2 separate regions of the Homo sapiens genome follow, and region 2 is linked to region 1. Evidence: promoter capture Hi-C in human tissues and cell types (Jung and others, 2019). All regions are on one chromosome and are shown on one strand. Each heading gives the region's core, a stretch centred on a gene start or on the middle of the fragment in contact. The rest is flanking DNA. Distances are from core to core; before and after follow the strand shown. Region 1 holds the start of OTUD7A (OTU deubiquitinase 7A). Region 2 overlaps OTUD7A (OTU deubiquitinase 7A).

Region 1 (5,123 bases), core at 908-3,407:
AGTTAAGTTCTACAGCAACTACACACAGCGGGAGCAGTGTCATCCAAAAGCAGCTCACTTGGAGCCAGTTTCTCATCTCACTTAGGCACACCATTGGGAATAAATGCGGCACCATCAGGAGGTCAGAGGCCAAGAATTACACACACTTGCTCAGAGAAAGGTGTCCCCTCTCCTTCTCCACCAAGCTTGGGGGCCTCAGGAGTTACTTTCTAAGGGAAAACCTGCCATCTATGATCCAGGCCCAAGTGAGACCCGCACGTGGCAATACTTCGTAAAGCGGCGATTTCCACCCATTATCAGCCTGAACACTAAAGGCCTAAGTAACCACTGTTTTCCCATTCTTTTCACACCAATACAGGGTTCAAGAGATTGAAGTTCCTAACCAGGTCCCAACTTTTGAGTGGCATATGGTATTAAATTCCTTACAGATCCAATAAAATCACACTAACAATTTAAGGCATGCTTATTTTAACCAATTAGGAGGTGTCATTAATTATTAAATACAAAAATGTCAATACTTTTGTCCCTTATTGGATATCCTTTCGATATGATAGGCTTGAGTAGATACTCAGATTGCCTTGGGAACTTGCTTAGTTTTGTTCCCATAAGAATTGGTACTAATGGCACACTCACAATAAAATAATGGAGTGTTGATCCCATTTAGTGGGGAATGTTTATCCAGAACTGAGTGTGCCGTGCAGATCTACCTCTGTTCTCGTGAACCCTCTTTGGGTCTTGAAGAGGCCTTTGAAGCTGGTGGGACACACGGCTGCTGGGAGGACCCTAGTGAACCTGCCTCCCCGCCTTCGCCCAGGGCAGGCTTCTCCGGGCACACCCTGGAGGAGGAGGAGGAGGATGGTGAAGGACACCTGCAGATTTTCCTGAAGCAATTAAGACCTGTAAAGATTTAGGCCCCGCTGTCAACCTTTTCCTGGACACATTATCTGCCTCATCATATTTTTAAAAATTGTTCCTCTTACAGCCCACTTCCATTTACAAAGGTATCACCTGGCGGTAACCATGTGCATGTCATACATGACTTTCCCCTGGATCCTTGTGCTGTGGATGAAGCGTTTCCCTGATCGGGGTCTCACAAGTTTCCCTTCAGCTACTCTTAAATCTATACATTCTCAAGCCAATAGACAGAAATAAAAGTCATTTGCACTTGTGTGAGGTAGCTGAGTTTACAGAGCAGAGGCAAATCCATTTTATTACAGAGATTCTCAAAGGGCTGCAATAGCTTCACCGGGAGGGAGGAGGGTACACTTGAGCGGTTGTGTCCAATGAAGGAAAGTTTTAGTTAATGATGACATCACTGACATCTCCCAAATTTAAAGGAGCACTTAAAGCACCGCAGATGCAATTTTTTCCCCTCCAGTGAGGAGATACTAGGGAAGGCCTCTGGGTTCACAGCCAAATTGCCTTAATGGTTTGCCTGCTGTCCAGCGAGACCCAGCAGAGCGAGCGGGACGGCGGTGCGCCGGGCCGCGGGGACCCACGCAGTCACAGCTCCGGTGCCCGGCGAGCGGCCTCGCGCGCGGCTCGGGGCCGGGCCCTGCCCGGCCGTCTGCAAGAGCCGCGGGACCCCCGACGCGCGCGCACGGACCGAGGGGTCGGTCGCCCCACGCCTGGCATCACGTTCCAGTGCGGACAGCCAAAGGGCTGAGCGGAGGCAGCAGCCCCGACCCAGCGGTAGCGCCGCGCCCTGCCCGAGAGAGGCGCGCCACGCCGGGCCGGAGCCGGTGGCCCGGGAGCCCGCGGGGTCCGGAGCGGAGCCCGCAATGCAGACGCGCCGGCGAGCCCAGCCGGGGCCCGCGCCCCCCGCGTCCCCGCGCCCCGGCCCCGCGGTCGCCCGGCCTCAACGCCCACCTGCCTCGCCACGGAGCTCGGGAAGGAGACGGCGCCGGCCCCGCGCCCGGAGAGCGCACCTGCCTGGTCCGCGGGCCCGGCCCCGCCGCCCGCCGGCAGCACCGCGGCCAGCGCCGTCTTACCTGCCGCGCCGCGCCGCTCCGCTCCGCCAGCCCGCAGCGCCGCAGTCGCCGCTACCCGACTTCCATTTTCTCTCGCTTTAAAGGAAAACCAGATCAGCTGTTTTGCTCCCGCTCGGGCTCCGCGGCCCCCTCCCCAGCTGCCGCTCGCGGTCCCGGTGGCCTCTCCTCCCCCGCCTCCTCCCGCGCTCCGCTCCGCCCCTCGCGCCCCTCCGCTCCGCCCGCGGCCGCGCACAACGCCCGCCTCCCGGCTCCGCCTGCTGCCTCCGGGCGCGCGCCCTCCTCTGACGTCACCGGTCGCGTTCGCGCCCCGCCCCCGCCCCGCGCGGACGTGCGCGCGCCGCGCCTGTGCCCCGCCCCCGCCCCTCCGGGGCCGGGCACGGAGAGCGCGTGCTCGCGGCCGCGAGCCGAGGAGGGGACGTACAGCGCCCGCGCGCCCGCGAGCCCGCTCCGGCTCTCCCATGCTTGCCCCTCGGGGTGCTCCTTCTGCGCTCTCCGCCTGGACTGCAGGAAAAGGCTGCTTAAACAGCCTGCCTTTTCCTGCTGCCTGACTCGCGCCATCTGCGGCCACCTGTCTCGTTTCTTCCCCCTGGCTGGCGCACCCTTCCTTCCTAAACATCCCAAACTTTCTCCCACCCAGGCTGTCCAGGCTGCAGTTTCTACGCCCTGCGCTGGGGCCTGTGCATCACGCCTAATCCAAAGCTGGTCCTTTTACCTCCCAAAAAGGTTCTCTGACCTTTTCCCATTTTTTGCCTTCCTCTAAAGACTTTTTCACGCCACCCCTTCAGATGGTTCCCCTCCCTGATGGCAAGACCTGCTCGCTGCTCTGGGCCCTTCTCACGTCACCCTGTAGATGTAGTCACGCTTCCTTATCCCAAACAGGACGTTATATTGCAGATGACCCATACCATCCTGGTGTACTTCTAAACAATCATTATTTTACTTTTAGTTTAGGACTTTTTGCTTGACTTTAAACATTGTATATGTTTAATAGTGTTTAATAATTTATTTGACTTTTAAAATTGATATTCAGTAAAATTGGTTATTTGATATATAATCCTGTGATCTTGAACCCTTGTTTGGATTCATGTAACCACTAGCGCAATAAAGAGCTCCCTAGTTCTGCCCTTTTATAACAGCGCCCCCGCCAACCCTAACTTTTGGTAACCACTGATAGGTTCTCCATTGCTACGGTTTTGTCTTTGTGAGTGTGTCGTATACATGGAATTACGCAATATGTAACATTTTGAAACTGACTTTATTCCCTCATCATTATACCTTGGAGATTCATCCATGTTATTGTGTATAGTAATAGTCCTTTTTATTGTTGAGGGGAGTCTCATTATTTGTACCACATTTTGTTTAGTCACCCACTGGAGAATATTTGCGTGGTTTCCAGTTTTTGGCGACTGTGAATAAACATTCTATAAACATTTGCATGCAGCGTTTTGTACGGACAAATTTTTTAAATTAGTTGACTAAATATCTAGGAGTGCAATTGCTAGATCTTATGGTAAATTTGTTTAACTTTATAAGAACCAAACAGTTTTCTAGAGTGGCTATAGCATTTTTATAACTGTCAGCAAATATGAATCCCTTTCCTTCATCCTCACCAGCACTTGATATTGGCTATCTTTATCTATCTATCTGTCCATCCATCCATCCATCCGTCTATCATCTATAATTTTAGACATTCTAGTAGGCATATAGTGCTATATCGTTGTTAATTTTCAATTTTCTACTGAAAAATTATGTGGAGCAACTTTTCATATGCACCTGTATATCTTCTTTGGTGAGATGTTTGTTCACATCTTTTGCCCATTAAAAAAAAAAGGTTGTTTTCTTATGGTTGAGTTTTAAGAGTTCTTTGTGTATTTTGGATAGAAGTACTTTATCTGATACGTGTTTTGCAGGTATTTTCTTCCAGTGGAAGCTTGTCTTTTCATTCTCTTAACAGTCCTGTCCTGAATTTAGGGGAAGTATCCAGTTTCTTACCACTAAATATGATGTTAGCAGTAGGATTTTTTTAGTTCTTCTTTATCAAGATTAGGAAGTTCTCTCTATTCCTAGTTTGCAGAGTTTTTATCATGAATGAATGTTGGATTTTGCCAAATTCGTTTTCTGCATCTATTGATACGGTCATGTGATTTTATTTTCTTTAGCTTGTTGATATGATGGGTTACATTGATTTTCAATTGATTTTCAAGGAACCGGTCTTGCATACTTGGGTCAAATTCTACTTGGGCATGGTATATAATTGTTTTTATACACCATTGTATTCAATATGCTAATATTTTGTTGAAGACTTTTGCATCTATGTTCATGAGAAATATTTGGCTATAGTTTTCTTTTTTGTAATGTCTTTAATTTATTTTGGTATGCCGGTAATGCTGGCCTCATAAAATGAGTTAAGAAGTAATATTTACTTGTATTTTCTGTAAGAAATTGTAAAGAACCTATATCAATTCTTCCATAAATGTTTGGTAAAATTCCCTGGTGAAACCATCTGAATCTGGTGATTTTTTTGAGACTTCATTAATTATTGATTCTTTGTGGATACAGAGCTATTAGGTGATCTGTTTGCTTTTCTGTAAAATGTAGTTGTATCATTCAAGGAATCGGTCCTTTTTATCTAATATTCAAACTTGTGGGTGTAAAGTTGTTCATCATAAACCTTTATTATTCTTTTAACATCTATGAAATTAGTAGAGATGACGCCTCTTTCATTTTTTGATATTGGCAAACTATGCCCAATGTCTTTTTTTCTTGGTTAACCTGGACAGGTTTATTAATTTTAATCATCTTTTCAGCTTTTTCTTTGTTTTGTTGATTTTTTTCTATTGTTTTCTATTTTCAATTTCATTCTCTAATTTTTATTATTCCTCTTTGTTCTGCTTGTTTTAGGCTTAAATTGCTCTTCTTTCTCTATTATCCAAGGTGACAATTTAGGTTGTTGATTTTAGATTTTTCTTCTTTTCAAATGTATACATTTACTGCTATAAATATCCCCGCTTTTACTGCATCCCACAAATTTAGAAAAGTTGTACTTTAATTTTTATTTAGATCAATGTTTTTAGTTATTCTTGAGATTCCTCTTTGACCCAAATGTTTTTTAAAAATGTGTTGTTTAGTTTC
Region 2 (5,123 bases), core at 867-3,366, 270 kb before region 1:
TAGGTGGTTTTACCCTCACAGTGTAAACAAAGCCGCAGGGAAGTTCGAACTGGGTGGAGCCCATCACAGCTCAGCAAGGCCGCCGTGGCCAGACTGCCTCTGGACTCCTCCTCTCTGGGCAGGGCATCTCTAAAAAAAAAGGCAGCAGCCCCAGTCAGGGACTTATAGATAAAACTCCCATCTCCCTGGGACAGAGCACCTGGGGGAAGGGGTGGCTGTGGGCGCAGCTTCAGCAGACTTAAATATCCCTGCCTGACGGCTCTGAAGAGAGCAGTGGACCTCCCAGCACAGCGTTTGAGTTCTGCTAAGGGTCAGACTGCCTCTTCAAGTGGGTCCCTGACCCCTGTGTATCCTGACTGGGAGACACCTCCCAGGAGGGGCCAACAGACACCTCATACAGGAGAGCTCTGGCTGGCATCTGGTGGATGCCCCTCTGGGAGGAAGCTTCCAAAGGAAAGAACAGGCAGCAATCTTTGCTATTCTGCAGCCTCTGCTGGTAATACCCAGGCAAACAGGGTCTGGAGTGGACCTCCAGCAAACTCCAGCAGGCCTGCAGCAGAGGGGCCTGACTGTCAGAAGGAAAACTAACAAACAGAAAGGAATAGCACATTCACTCAGAGATCCCATCCAAAGGTCACCAACATCAAAGACCAAAGGTAGATAAATCCATGAAGATGGGGAGAAACCAGCGCAAAAAGGCTGAAAATTCCAAAAACCAGAACGCCTCTTCTCCTCCAAAGGATCACAACTCCTCGCCAGCAAGGGAACAAAACTGGACAGAGAATGAGTTTGGCAAATTGACAGAGGTAGGCTTCAGAAAGTGGGTAATAACAAACCCCTCTGAGCTAAAGGAACATATTCTAACCCAATGCAAGGAAGCTAAGAACCTTGAAAAAAGGTTAGACGAATTGCTAACTAGAATAACTGGTTTAGAGAAGAACATAAATGACCTGATGGAGTTGAAAAACACAGCACAAGAACTTCGTGAAGCATACACAAATATCAATAGCCGAGTCGATCAAGCGGAAGAAAGGATATCAGAGATTGAAGATCAAATTAATGAAATAAAGCAAGAAGACAGGATTAGAGAAAAAAGAATGAAAAGGAATGAACAAAGCCTCCAAGAAATATGGGGTTATGTGAAAAGACCAAATCTACATTTGACTGATATACCTGAAAGTGATGGGGAGAATGGAACCAAGATGGAAAACACTCTTCAGGATATTATCTAGGAGAACTTCCCCAACCTAGCAAGGCAGGCCAACATTCAAATTCAGGAAATACAGAGAACACCACAAAGATACTCCTCGAGAAGAGCATCCCCAAGACACATAATCCCAAGATACATAATCGTCAGATTCACCAAGGTTGAAATGCAGGAAAAACTGTTAAGGGCAGCCAGAGAGAAAGGCCAGGTTACCCACAAAGGGAAGCCCATCAGACTAACAGTGGATCTTTCTGCAGAAACCCTACTCAACACAACCCAGAATTTCATATCCAGCCCAACTAAGCTTCATAAGTGAAGGAGAAATAAAATCCTTTACAGACAGGCAAATGCTGAGAGATTTTGTGACCACCAGGCCTGCCTTACAAGAGCTCCTGAAGGAAGCACTAAACATGGAAAGGAACAGCCGGTACCAGCCACTGCAAAAACATACCAAATTGTAAAGACCATCAACACTATGAAGAAACTGCAGCAACCAACGAGCAAAATAACCAGCTAGCATCATAATGACAGGATCAAATTCACACATAACAATATGAACTTTAAATGTAAATGGGCTAAATGCCCTAATTAAAAGACACAGGCTGGCAAATTGGATAAAGAGTCAAGACCCATCAGTGTGCTGTATTCAGAAGACCCATCTCACATGCAAAGACACACACAGACTCAAAATAAAGGGATGGAGGAATATTTATCAACAAATGGAAAGCAAAAAAAAGCAGGGGTTGCAATCCTAGTCTCTGATAAAACAGACTTTAAACCAACAAAGATCAAAAGAGACAAAGAAGGGCATTACATAGTGGTAAAGTGATCAAGGCAACAAGAAGAGCTAACTATCCTAAATATATATGCACCTAATACAGGAGCACTCAGATTCACAAAGCAAGTTCTTAGAGACCTACAAAGAGACTCAGACTCCCACACAATAACAGTGGGAGACCTTAACAACCCACTGCCAATATTAGACAGATCACTGAGACAGAAAATTAACAAGGACATTCAGGACTTGAACTCAGCTCCGGACCAAGCAGACCTAATAGACACATACAGAACTCTCCACCCCAAATCGACAGAATATACATTCTTCTCGGCACCACATCGCACTTTTTCTAAAACTGACCACATAATTGGAAGTAAAACACTCCTCAGCAAATGCAAAACAATGGAAATCATAACAAACAGTCTCTCATACTACAGTGCAATCAAATTAGAACTCAGGATTAAGAAACTCACCCAAAACTGCACAACAACATGGAAACTGAACAACCTGCTCCTGAATGACTCCTGGGTAAATAATGAAATGAAGGCAGACATAAAGATGTCCTTTGAAACCAATGAGAACAGACGCAACGTACCAGAATCTCTGGGACACATTTAATGCAGTGTGTAGAGGGAAATTTATAGCACTAAATGCCCACAAGAGAAAGCAGGAAAGATCTAAAATCGACACCCTAACATCACAATTAAAAGAACTAGAGAAGTAAGAGCAAACAAATTCAAAAGCTAGCAGAAGACAAGAAAAAACTAAGATCAGAGCAGAACTGAAGGAGATAGAGACACAAAAAACCCTTTAAAAAAAATCAATGAATCCAGGAGCTAGTTTTTTGAAAAGATCAACAAAATAGACCGCTAGCCAGACTAATAAAGAAGAAAAGAGAGAAGACTCAAATACACACAATGGAAAATGATAAAGGGGATATCACCACTGATCCCACAGAAATACAAACTACCAGAGAATACTATAAACACTCCTATGCAAATAAAGTAGAAAATCTAGAAGAAACGGATAAATTCCTGGACATATACACCCTCCCAAGTCTAAGCCAGGAAGAAGTCAAATCCCTGAATAGACCAATAACAAGTTCTGAAATTGAGGCAGTAATTAATAGCCTACCAACCAAAAAAAGTCCAGGAACAGATAGATTCACAGCCGAATTCTACCAAAGGTACAAAGAGGAGCTGGTACCATTCCTTCTGAAACTATTCCAATCAATAGAAAAAGAGAGAGTCCTCTCTAACTCATTTTATGAGGCCAGCATCATCCTGATACCAAAACCTGGCAAAGACACAACAAAAAAAGAAAATTTCAGGGCAATATCTCTGATGAACATCAATGAAAAAATCCTCAATAAAATACTGGCAAACCGAATCCAGCAGCACATCAAAAAGCTTATCCACCATGATCAAGTGGGCTTCATCCCTGGGATGCAAGGCTGGTTCAACATACGCAAATCAAGAAATGTAATGCATCACATAAACAGAACCAATGACAAAAACCACATGATTATCTCAATGGATGCAGAAAAGGCCTTCGACAAAATTCAACACCCCTTCATGGTAAAAACTCTCAATAAACTAGGTATCAATGGAACATATCTCAAAATATTAAGAGCTATTTATGACAAACCCAGAGCTAACATCATACTGAATGGGCAAAAACTGGAAGCATTCCCTTTGAAAACCAGCACAAGACAAGGATGCCCTCTTCACCATTCCTATTCAACATAGTATTGGAAGTTCTAGCCAGGGTAATCAGGCAAGAGAAAGAAATAAAGGGTATTCAAATAGGAAAAGAGGAAGTCAAATTGTCTCTGTTTGTAGATAACATGATTGTATATTTAGAAAACCCCACCATTTCAGCCCTAAATCTCCTTAAGCTGATAAGTAACTTCAGCGAAATCTCGGGATACAAAATCAATGTGCAAAAATCACAAGCATTCCTATACACCAATAATAGCCAAATCATGAGTGAACTCCCATTCACAATTGCTACTAAGGGAATAAAATATCTAGTAACACAACTTACAAGGGATGTGAAGGACCTCTTCAAGGAGAAGTACAAACCACTGCTCAAGGTAATAAGAGAGGACACAAATAAATGGAAAAACATTCCATGCTCATGGATAGGAAGAAACAATATCATGAAAATGGCCATACTGCCCAAAGTAATTTATAGATTCAATGCTATCCCTATCAAGCTACCACTGACTTTCTTCACAGAATTGGAAAAAACTACTTTAAACTTCATATGGAACCAAAAAAGAGCCCACATAGCCAAGACAATCCTAAACAAAAAGAACAAAGCTGGGGGCATCACGCTACCTGACTTCAAACTGTACTACAAGGCTACAATAACCAAAACAGCATGGCACTGGTACCAAAACAGATATATAGACCAATGGAAGAGAACAGAAACCTCAGAAGTTAACACCACACTTCTACAACCATCTGATCTTTGACAAACCAGACATAAACAAGCAATGGGGAAAGGATTCCCTATTTAATAAATAGTGTTGGGAAAACTGGCTAGCCATATGCAGAAAACTGAAACTGGACCCCTTCCTTACACCTTACACAAAAATTAACTCAAGATGAATTAAAGACTTAAACGTAAGACCTAAAACCATAAAAATCCTAGAAGAAAACCTAGGGAATACCATTCAGGACATAGGCACGGGCAAAGACTTCAGGTCTAAAACACCAAAAGTAATGGCAACAAAAGCCAAAATTGACAAATGGGATCTAATTAAACTAAACAGCTTCTGCACAGCAAAAGAAACTATCATTAGAGTGAACAGGCAACCTACAGAATGGGAGAACATTTTTGTAATCTTTCCATCTAACAATGGGCTAATATCTAGAATCTACAAAGAACTTATACAAATTTACAAGAAAAAACAAACAACCCCACCAAAAAGTGGGCAAATTATATGAACAGACACTTCTCAAAAGAAGACATTTATGTGGCCAACAGACATATGAAAAAAAGCTCATCATCACTGCTCATTAGAGAAATGCAAATCAAAACCACAATGAGATACCATCTCACACCAGTTAGAATGGCGATCATTAAAAAATCAGGAAACAACAGATGCTGGAGAGGATGTGGAGAAACAGG

The links. Contacts are between HindIII fragments. The study calls those that stand out against the background at their distance.
Region 2: a contact is called between a fragment that was not itself captured here and the fragment with the promoter of OTUD7A in region 1, in 5 of the 25 tissues and cell types used here (H1 embryonic stem cells, IMR-90 fibroblasts, dorsolateral prefrontal cortex and 2 more).

The regions. Positions count from the first base shown.
Region 1 is chr15:31,868,516-31,873,638 of GRCh38, forward strand. It overlaps OTUD7A (OTU deubiquitinase 7A), which reads right to left and starts at 2,158. Exons shown (of 13, transcript NM_001382637.1): 1 at 1,992-2,158. RefSeq lists a silencer at 2,121-2,190. The HindIII fragment of the contact is 13,679 bases long and covers 1-5,123 here.
Region 2 is chr15:31,598,852-31,603,974 of GRCh38, forward strand. All of the region lies in intron 3 of OTUD7A (OTU deubiquitinase 7A), which reads right to left. Among named protein-coding and RNA genes, the nearest start is that of OTUD7A, 270 kb to the right of the region's middle. The HindIII fragment of the contact is 5,253 bases long and covers 1-4,743 here.